Regions from separate parts of the Homo sapiens genome. Here all the other regions are linked to region 2. Evidence: promoter capture Hi-C in 16 types of primary human blood cells and fetal thymus (Javierre and others, 2016). All regions are on one chromosome and are shown on one strand. Each heading gives the region's core, a stretch centred on a gene start or on the middle of the fragment in contact. The rest is flanking DNA. Distances are from core to core; before and after follow the strand shown.

Region 1 (3,387 bases), core at 779-3,278, 740 kb after region 2:
TTTCTTTTCAAATATAATTTCTTATATGTGTCAGTATTCCTAAAAATATATTCTACAGATTTACTTGTTATTGAGCTTCATAAGAATAGCTTCATACTCTGTGGTCTTCTGCAACTGGAATTTTTCATTCAACATTATGCTTCTAAGATTCATCCACACTGTTGTGTGTGGCTATGGTGCATTAATTTCATTAATGAACACAATAACATTACATTGAAAATACTGCAATTTGTCTATTCTTGTTAATATTTGTTTAGATTGTTTCCAGTGTTTTGCAATTTCAGACAGGGTTGCTACAAACATTGTTGTATGTCTCTTGGTTCATACCTACAAAGTTTCTCTAGGCCTTTTACTGAGAAGTGGACTTCTAGCTGAAAGGGTATGTAAATGTTCAACTTTAAAAGATAATACCACCTGGATGCAGTGGGTCATGTCTATAGCTCCAGCTGCTTGAGAGGCTGAGGCAGGAGGACAGCGTTGAGCCCAGGAGTTTGAGGCAAGCCTGTGCAATATAGTGAGACTCCACCTCTAAAATTTTGTTAATAGAAATCAATTTAAAAACTAAAAAGATAGTACTAAATTGTCTTCAAAGTTGTCTGCAGTCTTGCCAGTAAAATATAAAAGTCCCCATTGATCCATATCCTTTCTAACACTTGGCATAACCAGATTTATTAATCGTTCTCTTTATTAGATGTAAAATTGTGTCTCCTTTTAGTCATAATTTGTATTTCCCTGCAACAGAGTTTGAAATTGTTTCTTAAGCTTGTTGACCCTTCACGTTTCCATTTCTGTGAAACATTTGTTTGTCTTTTGCCCATTTTAAAATCGGGTTATTTGAGTTTTTCTTATTGAATTAAAGTTCTTTATATATTTGGATATAAATTATTTTTAATTACAAGCATTACCAATATTTTCTCCCAGTTTATGGCTTGCCTTTTCACTTTCTTTATAGTATCTCTTTAAACAGAAATTTTAAATTGTAATGAAGTTGAATTTATCAGTCTTTTCTATTGTAATCAGAAGTTTTAATCTTGTTTTTTTAAAAATACAGGTCTACCCCAAATTTATAAATATACTCTCTTATATAATACGTTCTTTTAAGGGTTCAGAAGCTTTGTCTTTCACATTTAAGATGCAAATGGAATTAATTTTTGTGTTCATGGTATGAAATAGGGCTCCAATTTAATTTTTTCCATATGGGTAAACAGTTATCCTAGAAGAGCATTTATTTAGACTGAAAATAGTCACATATATTGCTATTAGAGAAACGTATGCAATATAACAAAATATATGGCATTTAGAAAACATAAAATATAATACTTACAGTAATTAGTATATATACAAATTTTAAAGAAAAGATATTGGAAGGGCATACACCAAAATGAAAACAGTGATTATCTTTGGCTGGTGAGGTTGCCAATGATTTCATTTGTTTATTTTGTTCTTCTGTATATTTTCCAAATTCTCTATATAGAGTATACATTGATGTATTTTTCTAAATACTGGGAAATAAGGTAGTGTCTATGGGTGATAATGTGGTGTCAATGTAATTTAAAAAGAAACTATTAGTTGAAAGAGGAGCCATGAATTCAAATCTTCAAGCTTAACTTCTTTTTAAAAGCTTCTTCCGTTTCTGAGGCAAAAAAAAAGTATTGGTGGATTATGCAGTAAGTCTCAGTAGAAGGCATTAAGAGAGTTAAGTTCTGAAACCTGCGTAATTTTTCTATACATAGTTATAAAATTTTTTTCTCCCCTGAGTTGTTTGCTTTACAGGTATGTAAGCCTCTTTGGAAAATAGGATTGGGGCACTTATGTATATCATTGGAGATCTAATCATTTACTTTTGCCCAACAGCAGATAATGAAAAGACTTATAAAGCGGTATGTTTTGAAAGCACAAGTAGACAAAGAAAATGATGAAGTTAATGAAGGTAAGCATCTCCAACTTAAAAAATATCCTTTTATAGCTAACTTAATGAACCTGGAAAACTTAATGTTGAGGCATATTTTAAAAATCCAATCCCAGGTTATAGTTTGGATGCCTCTAAGATGGGAGGAGGATCTTATGTTACGTTTCTAAAACTTCATCTTTTAAAATAAACAGTTATTTACAATATTGATCAGAGGCAATTTATCTCTACTCATAGTGCCCTAACTGATTCTTAGAATGTAAAGACTGACATCTTTCTAGGAGTTTTTTAATCCTTCTGACATAAGGTAGTCAGTAAGTATTGGTTACATTTTCAATGAGTTCACATTAGTGTTAACATTTTTCCAGTTAAGCAGATAAAAGAACAGTGACTCAAACAGAATTCATGTCTTCAGGAAAACCTCTGTTTTATTGTTCAGAAACACATTTTTAACCTGTTTTTCTTGTCTGGTGCGTCTCTTTTGAATTTCACTTTCCCCCCTGCCTCCTTACTTTAAGCAAGCTTATTTTTTTAAGGCATATTTGAGGCAGGGCATCTCTCTGGACTATAAAAATTTTTTACCAAAGTCTAGGATGTAGAGCTAAACACAGGCCCAGAGTTGGAAAGAAATCAACCAGGGAGAAATAAGTTGCCCTAAAAATGGAAACTGTACCTTCCAACACCAATGAGATGCCACTAAATCTATCTACACTGATAAAAGAGGAAAGGACTAAACTTAATAAAATTGTTCATAGGCTTTGAAGCCATTACTTGATTAATACAAGGAATGCATTTTAAATGTAAATCAATCCAATAGTGTATGTATGTAGAAGAGAAACCTGTGAATTTATAATCGATAACTAGCAAAAATCTAATCATGGTGACCTAATCAATCTGTCTCAGGAGAAAGGATTGGAATGAGGTTGTAGTTTAGAAAGCAGAAGTCTGATGAGTTGTACCGTAATCTCCATGGGGGGTGGAGAGGGAGGAACAAAGTGGGAAGAACTGTATGGCTAAAACGGCATAAAAAACAAGAAGCATTTCCCAAGCCCTTGCACAAAAGGGGAAAATCAATGAGAATTTGGAGTTTTGAACAAAGTTCTTACTAAGAAAATGTGTCATATAATCTCCTCATTTAATTAATGAGGAAACTAAAATCTGAAGAGTTTGAGTAACTTGTGTTTCCTGAATTGGCAGATTAAATATTTAATACAACACATAGGTTGTAGTCTCCCCATGAGTCGGGGACAAGGAAGAAAGGATAGTAGAAGGTGAAGTAGGGCAGGGGGTCTCCTGCGGTACTGAATGGTGTGAGAATCCACTCCTTCCACTGAAGTCTGCCTCATGATTTCAAATAAGATCAGTTTATTCCTTTTATATTGCCATATGCCAAAGGAAGCACTTTTTTTTTTTTTTGCCACAAAAGGGCTCCTCAAATGTTTTGTGTGTATTCCTGAGTTAGAATTCTTTTCAAATAA
Region 2 (3,329 bases), core at 783-3,282:
CTTATGAGATCCAGTCCTGGCAACATGGAGAGGATTGTCATCTGTCTGATGGTCATCTTCTTGGGGACACTGGTCCACAAATCAAGCTCCCAAGGTCAAGATCGCCACATGATTAGAATGCGTCAACTTATAGATATTGTTGATCAGCTGAAAAATTATGTGAATGACTTGGTAAGACTATATTTGTCACAACAAAATCTAAATCATACTTTTCAATTAATATAAAAGGAGGGTTTGGCTTATAAAAATAACTCAGAACAAATTTTCTTTTGCTCTAGGTCCCTGAATTTCTGCCAGCTCCAGAAGATGTAGAGGTAAGACCAGTTGAATTTATTTCTGAAAATACATTGGACATAAGTTTTTAAATCCAATAAGAAAGACATTAGCATGATTATATAGGAGTATACTGAATTTTAATGAACTTAGCGGTCTAATAATTGATGAAATATTTATTTATATTTTGGTTAAATTCATTGATTTACCAAAAACCAACTAAAAAATGCTATATTATATTCCTCATAAACTATGTTTATCTTCAAGAATCTCTAAGAGTACTCCTAAGTAGTATTGCTGAGACAGAATAACAAAACTAGAAACGAAATCTATACTCTGATCAGTTTCTGAACAATGCACAGCTAGTTACTCTTTAAGAGCCCTTGGGCATGAAAGCTTTTGAGCCTTCTTTGTTATCCTACCGAAGAAACATAGATACATACAGTAGGAAGCAGAATTAACCTTTTAATAACAAACTTAAAAAAGAAAGAAAGAAAGAATTAGATTACAGGGACAGCATGGAGAAATGGTGGTGTGGAAATCAAAGCTGTCCTTCAGAATATAATTCACATATACCTTGGCCTCAGTGAGTCTTGTCTTTGGCCTTCCGTGAGGTCTTTTGAAAGAACCATTTTCAACAATTCATCCCGTCTCTTAAGCCATTTAAATCCATTAGAGTTCCAGGAAGAAGAGGCCTGGCATGTAGTTCAAGAGTGCTGTCCGCTGATCTTTTTCTCCAGTAACTTCTACGATCTGATCTTCTGGTCTGGTACCCTGAGAGTATAAATGCAATTGGGGAAATGTTTTCATTGTCACAGACCTTTAATTGCATAAATTAGAATAACTAAAAGTGCTACCAGTAATTAGGACACTACAAAGGGGGAGACTTAAGAAGATACATTGCAAAGAAAACAATTATCGTAAATGACTATGTGTAAAAGTTTAGAAAGTGAATGAGTCACAACTATTGCTTTTCTCTAAAATTCACTCTCTAGCTCTGAACCCAAACACTCTCATTTACTAGGTCCTTTTCTAATAAGCAGCATCTAAAATGAAAGTAGCACATTCAGCTTATTGGAAAGACTTTTCCAATAACTGAAAATACTTCTTAATCAATGTGCCTAATTATCAAAACATACATTTCTAGCATCTCATGCACCTTGTTTAACTGTTATGGTTAGAGTTCTTTCCAGAGTTTCCTGGCTGTAGTCTATAACTTGCAAAATAAGAAATAAGAAAGAGATTCCACCTTCTAACCTGAGTTGGTCCAGTGGGTACTTCCTTTACGTGTGTTGTTAATGAAAGATATTTTTTATCTTACATCATAATGAAAGGATTTTGTCTCCGTGATACTGTATCTATCTGATAATCTGATCAAGCAATGCTGGCTATGATATAAGTGAGTAATAGTGTAACTTGGATCTTTAAGCTATACTAGTAGGCAAACTCAGGAAGAAAGAAATCGTTCAAGGTCACATTAGCATTATATCAAGCTAGCTTCAAAGTAGGGTCTGTAAGAGATTTTAAAAGATTTAAAAGTTTAATGAAAATAAAACTATCTAATGTTGCATGCATATAGTAATTATCTAAGATCTCTAATTGGCCTAGCCAGGCATCTTTCTTTTTCTCTTTTTCTTTCCGTCTAATCATATAACCAGTGGTTCTCAACCGGTGGTGATTTTTGTGCCCCAGAAAACATTTGGCATTGGCTGGAAAAATTTCTGGTTGTCACACTTGGAGGTAGAATGGGGGTGCTACTGGCATCTAGTAGGTAGAAGCCAGGTACTAAACATTCTAGAATGCACAAGACAGCCCTGACAACAAAGAATTATCTAGCCCCAAATGTCAGTGGTATCACCGTTGAGAAACCCTGATATAAACCTAGTTTGTGTGTAGGACAAAGGTAATCCTTTTTTTTTTTTTTTTTTTTTTTTTTTGAGACGGAGTCTCGATATGTTGCTAGGCTGGAGTGCAGTGGTGCGATCTCAGCTCACTGCAACCTCTGCCTCCCAGGTTCAAGCGATTCTCCTGCCTCAGCCTCCCGAGTAGCTGGGACTACAGGCGCACGCCACCACACCCAGCTAATTTTTGTATTTTTTAGTAGAGACGGGGTTTCACCATGTTGGCCAGGATGGTCTCAATCTCTTGACCCCGTGATCCACCTGCCTTGGCCTCCCAAAGTGCTGGGATGACAGGCGTGAGCCACTGCACCCAGCCAGGACAAAGGTAGTCTTGCCCAATTAGCAAGACTTCTTAGTGTGAATGGCCAGGGCTTTCTTTGCAAAAGGAAAAAAATGTAAAAATAGGCCTCAGCTGGGTGAAGTGGCTCCTGCCTGTAATCCCAATGCCTGTAATCCTTTTGGGAAGCCAAGTTTGGAGGATTGCTTGAGGTCAAGAGTTTGAGAACAACCTGGGCAAAATAGTGAGACATCCTGTTTCTACAAAAGAAAAAAAAAAAAGCCCTAAGGAGGTAAAAAATTTCAAAAATTCAATTGCAAAACAACAAAGCCAAGTGTGACTCCTGGCAAAAGCAGCACTTGACTTGTTCTTCAGCTGAAGAGGAATGGTTTGTTAATTCTTGCGTTTGACTTTACTACCGCTCCTTCTAGTCTGCAAAACAATGTAGCAGCAGAAAACTCCTCATGTTCTCATATGTTAAAGCATGAGGGAAACAAAGTCTTGCCTTTGGAGTCTGTTGTCACCAAGGCATAGCAAAGGAAAGCAATGTTCATGCTTCCAGACAGTGCTAAATATGGAGTTGGCATCCTGTAGACTCCTGAGTGATAGGGCACCTGAGGCTGCCTAAATCAAGGTTAATCTTTTCACTCTCCTTCTCAATACATCCTTAAGGCAGTTTAGTGGCGACAGCCCTCTACTTCTTTTCCTCTTTTGAGGCTGCCTTTGATGTGCATATAAAGCCAATTCCCGCAGTTATTTATCCTGGACCACATATTGCCAGACACAGCTCTGCTGCTTGCAGAACAGAAGAAAACAAAACCCCATTGTCTGTTAACAGAGGTAAACAAGGAAGGGTGGGAGAGGAAGCACAGCCCCAT
Region 3 (3,411 bases), core at 839-3,338, 700 kb after region 2:
CATAGTAGGATTAGATTTAAATGTAGAAAAGCCATCCTAAAAAGAAACATGCAGCAGTATAAACAGGATAAAAGCATCCATTGTGTATCCACTTTCTGTGCAAAAAGTGTGCAGGGGAAGCCCAGAATTAAAGAAATGCAATGAGAGAGTGGTAAATACACCACTGAGACGTTGGAACGGGTGTGCTGGCCGGCACAGTCCTGTGTCCTGCACTGTGTGGCCTCTTGTCCTGGTCTTCCCCAGGCACCAAGAGATAACAGAGCATTTTGCACTCAGCAAGTTTGAAAATCCAGAAAACCTGTGCAATATAAGTTTTAGGTTTATATTTCACAAGTCATTGAGTTTTTAAAAGAAGTTGAATTGCCTAGTTTTTATTTACAAGAATATGTTCCTTTAAATTGTATGAATTGTGGCTCTAACAGTATCATTAAAAACAAATCCAGAGTTCCTACCATGATTTTACACAACAGTATTCCCATGAAGACAGTTCTTGTGAAGGCTGATTTGATGAAAAACAGTGTAACATGAATTAATTTTTAAGTTTAAAATTTGATTGTTTTCCCTAGCCTGCCCTGATCAGTGGTTCAGTTTATAATCTATTAGTTATTTGGCAAGAAAAAACATTTCAGTTGTTCTCAATGCTGATTGTCCAATTGAAAGATTGAGATTTTCTTGTGTCAAGCATTCTCTCTTTGAATCAGAAAACTCAAAATAAGGGTATTATTTTTGTTATGACTTCAATTTGCTGGTCCACTGAAGTTAGGAAACAGCATACAAATGTTATCCAGTTGGGCATAACTGGTGTAGTGACATAAGGAGATTTTTCAGGAGGTAAAACACTTTTCAGGTATAAAGGTCACTGCCCTATTTCGAAGTCATTGAAAAGACCAAAACTCATCTCCTAAAGGGATTAGCTTTTTTGCCTTCACTTGCTATTATTGTACTGGCTTTACTTTCTTTTTTGAAATGCTCCTTGTGTACTTGCATTAGGATTTTACATCATTGGAGGAAAATCTGTTTGTGTGGATTAAATGGAATCGACAGAATCCATGAAGTCGTGTATAATTATCTCAAAAAAAAGAGTAGAATTAGAAGCATAGGAAATAGACCTGTTAAGCTGAATTTTAAAGTGTAACAGGCAAAATGCAAACACCCACAATTTTGGTTACTACTTAATGTAGAGTAAGTGTTTGCACTGTAGTACAGGTTACATCAAGTCAAAGATTGACCATCACATATATGCCATATGGGAAGGATTGAGTCCATCAAGTCTTTGAAGCTGTGCAATCTTTATAAATATGTAATTAATGACATAAAGCACATCTTCAAATTTAAAAATTAGTCCAAGGAGGAGGAGTAGGAAAGGGAGATATGCTATAACATTAATATTTCTGTCCTCAAGAGTTTAAAACCTAAGAACGACTAGTGCCTTAGTCCGTTTGTGTTGTTACAATAGAATGCCTGAGATGGAGAGACTTATAAGAACAAAACTTTCTTGTCTCATAGTTCTGGAGGCTGGGAAGTCCAAGATCAAGGCACCAGCAGGTTTGGTAGTCTGGTGAGGGCTGCATCCTCTAGAGGGGAGGAACACTACGTCCTCACATGGCAGAAGAGTAGAAGAGCAAGCTAGCTGAATGCTGCATGAAGTCTTTTTTATAGGCGTCTTAATACCATTAACAAGGGAGCAGCCCTCATGGCCTAATCACCTCTTGAAGGCCCCACCTGTTAACTCTACCACATTGACAGCACCTGAATGTTGGAGGAGACACATTCAAACGATAGCTACCAGACACTCACAAAAGGGAAATTTGTCCATCAATTCCATATAGACACATGCCCACCTGTCTCTTAACTTCATGGGAATTTTGTTTCCTACAGAAACTGTTGGTCTAAAAACTACATTGTTGATTTCCTAAGTGGTAATCTGATTTAATGACATTATATGCTCCACCTGTAGTTTACCCTGAATGCACCATTATCTGTCCTAAGCTTAGCCTGGCTGCAGCCACCAGGGATGCCTTTTATTTATATCTGTCTAACTTCCCACAAATGCAGATCCTCCAAATATCAAGATACTTGTACCAACATTCAAATTAAGACTCTTTTAAATTCTGATTAGGCATCTTGACAAGCCTATGAGTTGAAGTCTCAGTTATAATAGCTTATTTTGTGTCTATTCAAAGCTTACTGTGTACCCTAGAACAATGACCTCTTATCACTTAATTCAACTCTGATGCTTCCATTTTTATCTTCTTGTACCAATACACTTGCCCAATATACTGCCTGGATCATAGGAGGGGCTTAAGACATTTTGATGAGTGAATAAATGAATGAATGAATGAAGGACATTTAGGGACCATAGAGGGAGAGGTGAAGCAGGAAGGAAATGATCTAAATATAGTACAGGAGCAGAAGTGGAAGTTTGGAGAAGTTCTCAACAAGAATCCTAGAAAGTTGTCACATATACCCAGGAAGCCTTCAACTTTGATATTCGTGAGTTCAAATAATGATTGCATTGGTCTATGAAATGCTGTTTTCAAAACTTAGAACCTTGGAAAAGTGACAAAATCCTGGGTTTGGAGAGAAGATCTAATACATCCTTAGCAACTAGCAGCTACTGAAAATCAGGACCTGGGATTTTGAAAACTGAATGGAAAGGAACTCGCATGATAAAATATGCTTCTTAGTTCAGGCTGCTGTAACTAAGTACCATAGGCTGGGTGGTTTATAAACAACAGAAATTTATTTCTCGGCCAGGCGTGGTGGCTCATGCCTGTAATCCCAGCACTTTCAGAGGCTGAGGCGGGCGGATCACCTGAGGTTGAGAGTTTGAGACCAGCCTGACCGCCATGGAGAAACCCCGTCTCTACTAAAAATACAAAAAATTAGCCAGGCATGGTGGCACATGCCTGTAATCTTAGCTACTTGGGAGGCTGAGGTAGGAGAATCACTTGAACCCGGGAGGTGGAGGTTGTGGTGAGACGAGATTGTGCCATTGCACTCCAGCCTGGGCAACAAAAGAGAAACTCCATCTCAAAAAAAAAAAATTATTTCTTACAGTTCTGGAGGCTGGAAATCCAAAATGAGGATGCCAGCATAGTGAAGATCTGATGAGGGCTCTCCTCTGGGTTGCAGACTGCTGACTTCTCATTGTATCCTCACATGGTGGAAAGAGCGAGCTCTCCTGCCTCTTCCTATCAGGGCTCCAGTCTCATTCATGAAGGCTCCTCCCTCATGATCTAATTACCTCCCAAAAGCCTAGCTTTCTAATACCCATCACATTGAGGCTTAGAATCTCAACATAATAACTCAGTTAATTATTTCAAATCTAATATTCATAAATTTATTCTCACCACCTCTGTCTGTGGGTCGTTAAGTACGCATGTATGGTGATGCGGAGGCAGCTGCCAG
Region 4 (3,189 bases), core at 534-3,033, 720 kb after region 2:
GTTAGGTGGTGAGGTAAATCATCTCTTTGGCTAGAGGGCCATGTGTTTGAATCACACCTTACAGTGGCAGAGCTTGGCCACAGATAAGAGGCCCTGCTCGTATACATGAAGACTAGGTATTACCTGTGTGTTCCTCTTGCTTCCTGTTCCTACCCACTCAAAAGCTAAACCTTAAAAAGAAAAAGAGAGAAAAGAAAAGGAAACCAAAATTCTTTAGCCCAATTCTCTCCAAAATTGTGAACCTGGCTTAGCATAAGGCCAAGATGCTTTGGAAGATGTGTTATTTTGGCTAATATTTTAGGGCTGCAAAATACCAAATGGTGCCATCTGAACCTGCAATATGTTTCTATTCAAATCTAGAAGAGGAACTTAGGCTCAGGAACAGATCAAACTTCTATGGAATTTGGCCTTCTAGATGCCTTGAGTACATTTTGATAAAGTATACAAGGTCCCCAGGGAAAATTATGTTTATTATGAGCCAATTTTTAACATATATTTTCCATTAAATAGTTCTATTACAGTAGTACATCCTGCCAACATTTTGATAAATGTGAGCATATTGCTCACAGTAATTTTAACCTTTGGGAATATATTACATCACTTACAAAGCTCAACTTCCACAAAATGTTTCTTGGGAATGTTGACTCCAGAAATGTTATCAAGGAGAATAAATGGATTATATTTTTTATTCCAAATGAATGTATTCTAATTTACTAGGTTAATTGTATTTTTTCCTAGTTAAACCTCTTCACTCAGTCTAACTCAAGAGTTTTTGAATCACACAGTTTTAACAGCATTCTCAATCAGCCAACACGTTATCAGGTAAGCATTCATTAGACGTATCTCTTGATCTCTATGTGATTCCATATATGTCTGCGTGTGTGTTTGTGTGTGTGTCATGAGTTGAGTTATATTCTTGAGATATACCATTATACCATGAGGATAGTTCAGAACAAAGAAAATGATTCAACACCTGTGAAATTTTTTAAAAAAAAATTAAAAATAAAAGAAAATAGTATGTTAGTTGGAGGAGACTTTAGAAATCAGAGTCCAAGTCCTTCATTTTTTTAACTAAGAGTTCCTCTCACAATATTGAAAGCAAAGTGTTGCTACAATTGCCAAATAATGTATAACTTAAACTGGAGAAAGCAGTAGAAGACAGAGTATGTTAGAATGAATAATGCTCCCATGGCAGGAAAACTTGTTTTTTCTCTAGGTTTTTCTTTCAGGTGATCCATTTTTTAAATGGATTGTTTGGCTATACTGTTTCATGAGTGCTACTTTAAAATATCTTTTGCATTTTGATACTGGATGTGACATTTGAACACTATTCTCCAACTCAGGGGAAGTTATAGCCCTTTGTTTTTCATCTCGTTGATCATTTCGATCATCAAGTCTTTGACTTTCTAATGTGTATAAGTTCACAAAAGTGACGATCAAGGAATTTATAATATATTGGTGATGTCCGTTACTGCGTATTGTTCTATTTTTTATCCAATTTTTTTAGAAGCAGGAAACCACAAAATGGCTCAGCCCACTGATTGTCAAAGTCTTTTTTTTAAGAAAATTTTTGTAAATTTTACATATTTGTTTATTTTTGTTTTATTGGTTTTGTCTAACTTTATTTTTAATTGATAAATAATTATACTTACTCATTGTCTACATAGTGATGTTTTGATACATATGTAGGAATCAGATCAGGGTAATTAGCATATCCATCATCTCAGACATCTATCATTTCTTTGTGTTGGTAACATTCAGTATCCTCCTTCTAGCTATATGAAACTATATAATATTAATATATCATTGTTAACTATGGTCATGCTATAGTGGTATAGAACAGTGGTCCCCAACCTTTTTGGCACCAGGGACCGGTTTTGTGGAAGACAATTTTTTCACAGATGGGGTGGAATGATGGTTTCAGGGTGAAAGTGTTCCACCTCAGATCTTCAGGCTCTTCAGGCATTAGATTCTCATAAGGAGTGCACACCCTAGATCTGTCACATGTGCAGTTCACAATAGGGTTCACAATAATAGGAGAATCTAATGCCGCTGCTAATCTGACAGGAGGTGGAGCTCAAGCGGTAATGCTCGCTTGCCAGCCTGTCACTTCCTGCTGTGCAGCCTGGTTCCTGACAGGCCACGGACAGATGCCAGTCCTTCATCTGCGGGTTGGGGACTCCTGGTGTAGAACACTAGAAGTTATTCCTCCTATCTAGCGGTAATTTTGTATCCTTTAACAAATCTCTCCATATCCCTCCCTACCCCTTACCCTTCCCAGTCTCTAGTATCCTTCGTCCTACATTTTACCTCTGTGAGATCAACTTTTTTTAGCTTCCACATATGAGTTTATGAGTTAGAACATGCGGTGCTTAACTTTATGTTCCTGGCTTATTTCACTTGACATAATGTCCTCCAGTTCCATCCATGTTGCTGCAAATGATGGGATTTCAATCTTTTTTATAGCTGAATTGCATTCCGTTGTGTATATATACTACATTTTTTATACATTCATCTGCTGTTAGACACCTAGGTTGATTTCATATTTTGAATATTGTGAATAGTGCTGCAATAAAACATGTGGGTGCAGTTGTCTCTTTGATATAATGATTTCTTTTCCTTTAGATAAATTCCCGTAGTGGGGTTGCTGGATCATATGGTAGCTCTATTTGTAGTTCTTGGAAAATCCTCCATACTGTTCTACATAATGGTTGTACTAGTTTACATTCCCATCAACAACATATTAGAGTTCCCTTTCTCTGCATTCTTACCAGCATTTTTTTTTTGTCTTTTTGATAGTAGACATTCTAACTGGAGTGAGATGATAACCTCATTGTGGTTTGGTTAGTGATGTCGAGCATTTTTTCATATATCATTGACCATTTGTATGTATTCTTTTGAGAAATGTCTGTTCAGATTATTTGCCCATTTTTAATTGGAATTTTTTTTTTTTTTTTTTTTTTTTTTTTTTTTTTTTTTTGCTGTTGAGATGATTGAGTTCCCTGTATATTCTGGATATTAATCCCCTATTGGATGAGCAATTTGCAAATATTTTCTCCAATTTTGTAGGCTGTCTTTTCACTGTTGTTTTTTCCTTTGTTGGTATGAACCAAACCAAGAAGCCTTTGGTTTGGTATGATCCCATATGTTTATTTTTGCTTTTGTTACTTCTGCTTTTGAGGTCTTGTT

What was found. The method cuts DNA at HindIII sites, captures the fragments that hold promoters and counts their contacts. A CHiCAGO score of 5 or more calls a contact.
Region 1: a contact is called between a fragment that was not itself captured here and the fragment with the promoter of IL21-AS1 in region 2, in 2 of 17 cell types (endothelial precursors and naive CD4 T cells). The highest score is 6.0, in endothelial precursors.
Region 3: a fragment that was not itself captured here is called in contact with the fragment with the promoter of IL21-AS1 in region 2 in 2 of 17 cell types (megakaryocytes and erythroblasts); the score reaches 6.8 in megakaryocytes.
Region 4: a contact is called between a fragment that was not itself captured here and the fragment with the promoter of IL21-AS1 in region 2, in 1 of 17 cell types (megakaryocytes). The highest score is 5.2, in megakaryocytes.

The regions. Positions count from the first base shown.
Region 1 is chr4:121,880,897-121,884,283 of GRCh38, reverse strand. TRPC3 (transient receptor potential cation channel subfamily C member 3) reads left to right here. Exons shown (of 12, transcript NM_001130698.2): 11 at 1,855-1,930. Among named protein-coding and RNA genes, the nearest start is that of BBS7-DT, 12 kb to the right of the region's middle. The HindIII fragment of the contact is 810 bases long and covers 1,624-2,433 here.
Region 2 is chr4:122,617,686-122,621,014 of GRCh38, reverse strand. It overlaps IL21-AS1 (IL21 antisense RNA 1), which reads right to left and starts at 2,032. Exons shown (of 11, transcript NR_104126.1): 1 at 1,523-2,032; 2 at 850-1,047; 3 at 1-147. IL21 (interleukin 21) reads left to right here. Exons shown (of 5, transcript NM_021803.4): 1 at 1-171; 2 at 279-314. The coding sequence starts at 4. RefSeq lists an enhancer at 1-862. The HindIII fragment of the contact is 3,552 bases long and covers 672-3,329 here.
Region 3 is chr4:121,916,355-121,919,765 of GRCh38, reverse strand. The region is part of intron 3 of TRPC3 (transient receptor potential cation channel subfamily C member 3); the gene reads left to right. Among named protein-coding and RNA genes, the nearest start is that of TRPC3, 34 kb to the left of the region's middle. The HindIII fragment of the contact is 194 bases long and covers 1,992-2,185 here.
Region 4 is chr4:121,897,245-121,900,433 of GRCh38, reverse strand. TRPC3 (transient receptor potential cation channel subfamily C member 3) reads left to right here. Exons shown (of 12, transcript NM_001130698.2): 10 at 739-822. Among named protein-coding and RNA genes, the nearest start is that of BBS7-DT, 28 kb to the right of the region's middle. The HindIII fragment of the contact is 5,104 bases long and covers 1-3,189 here.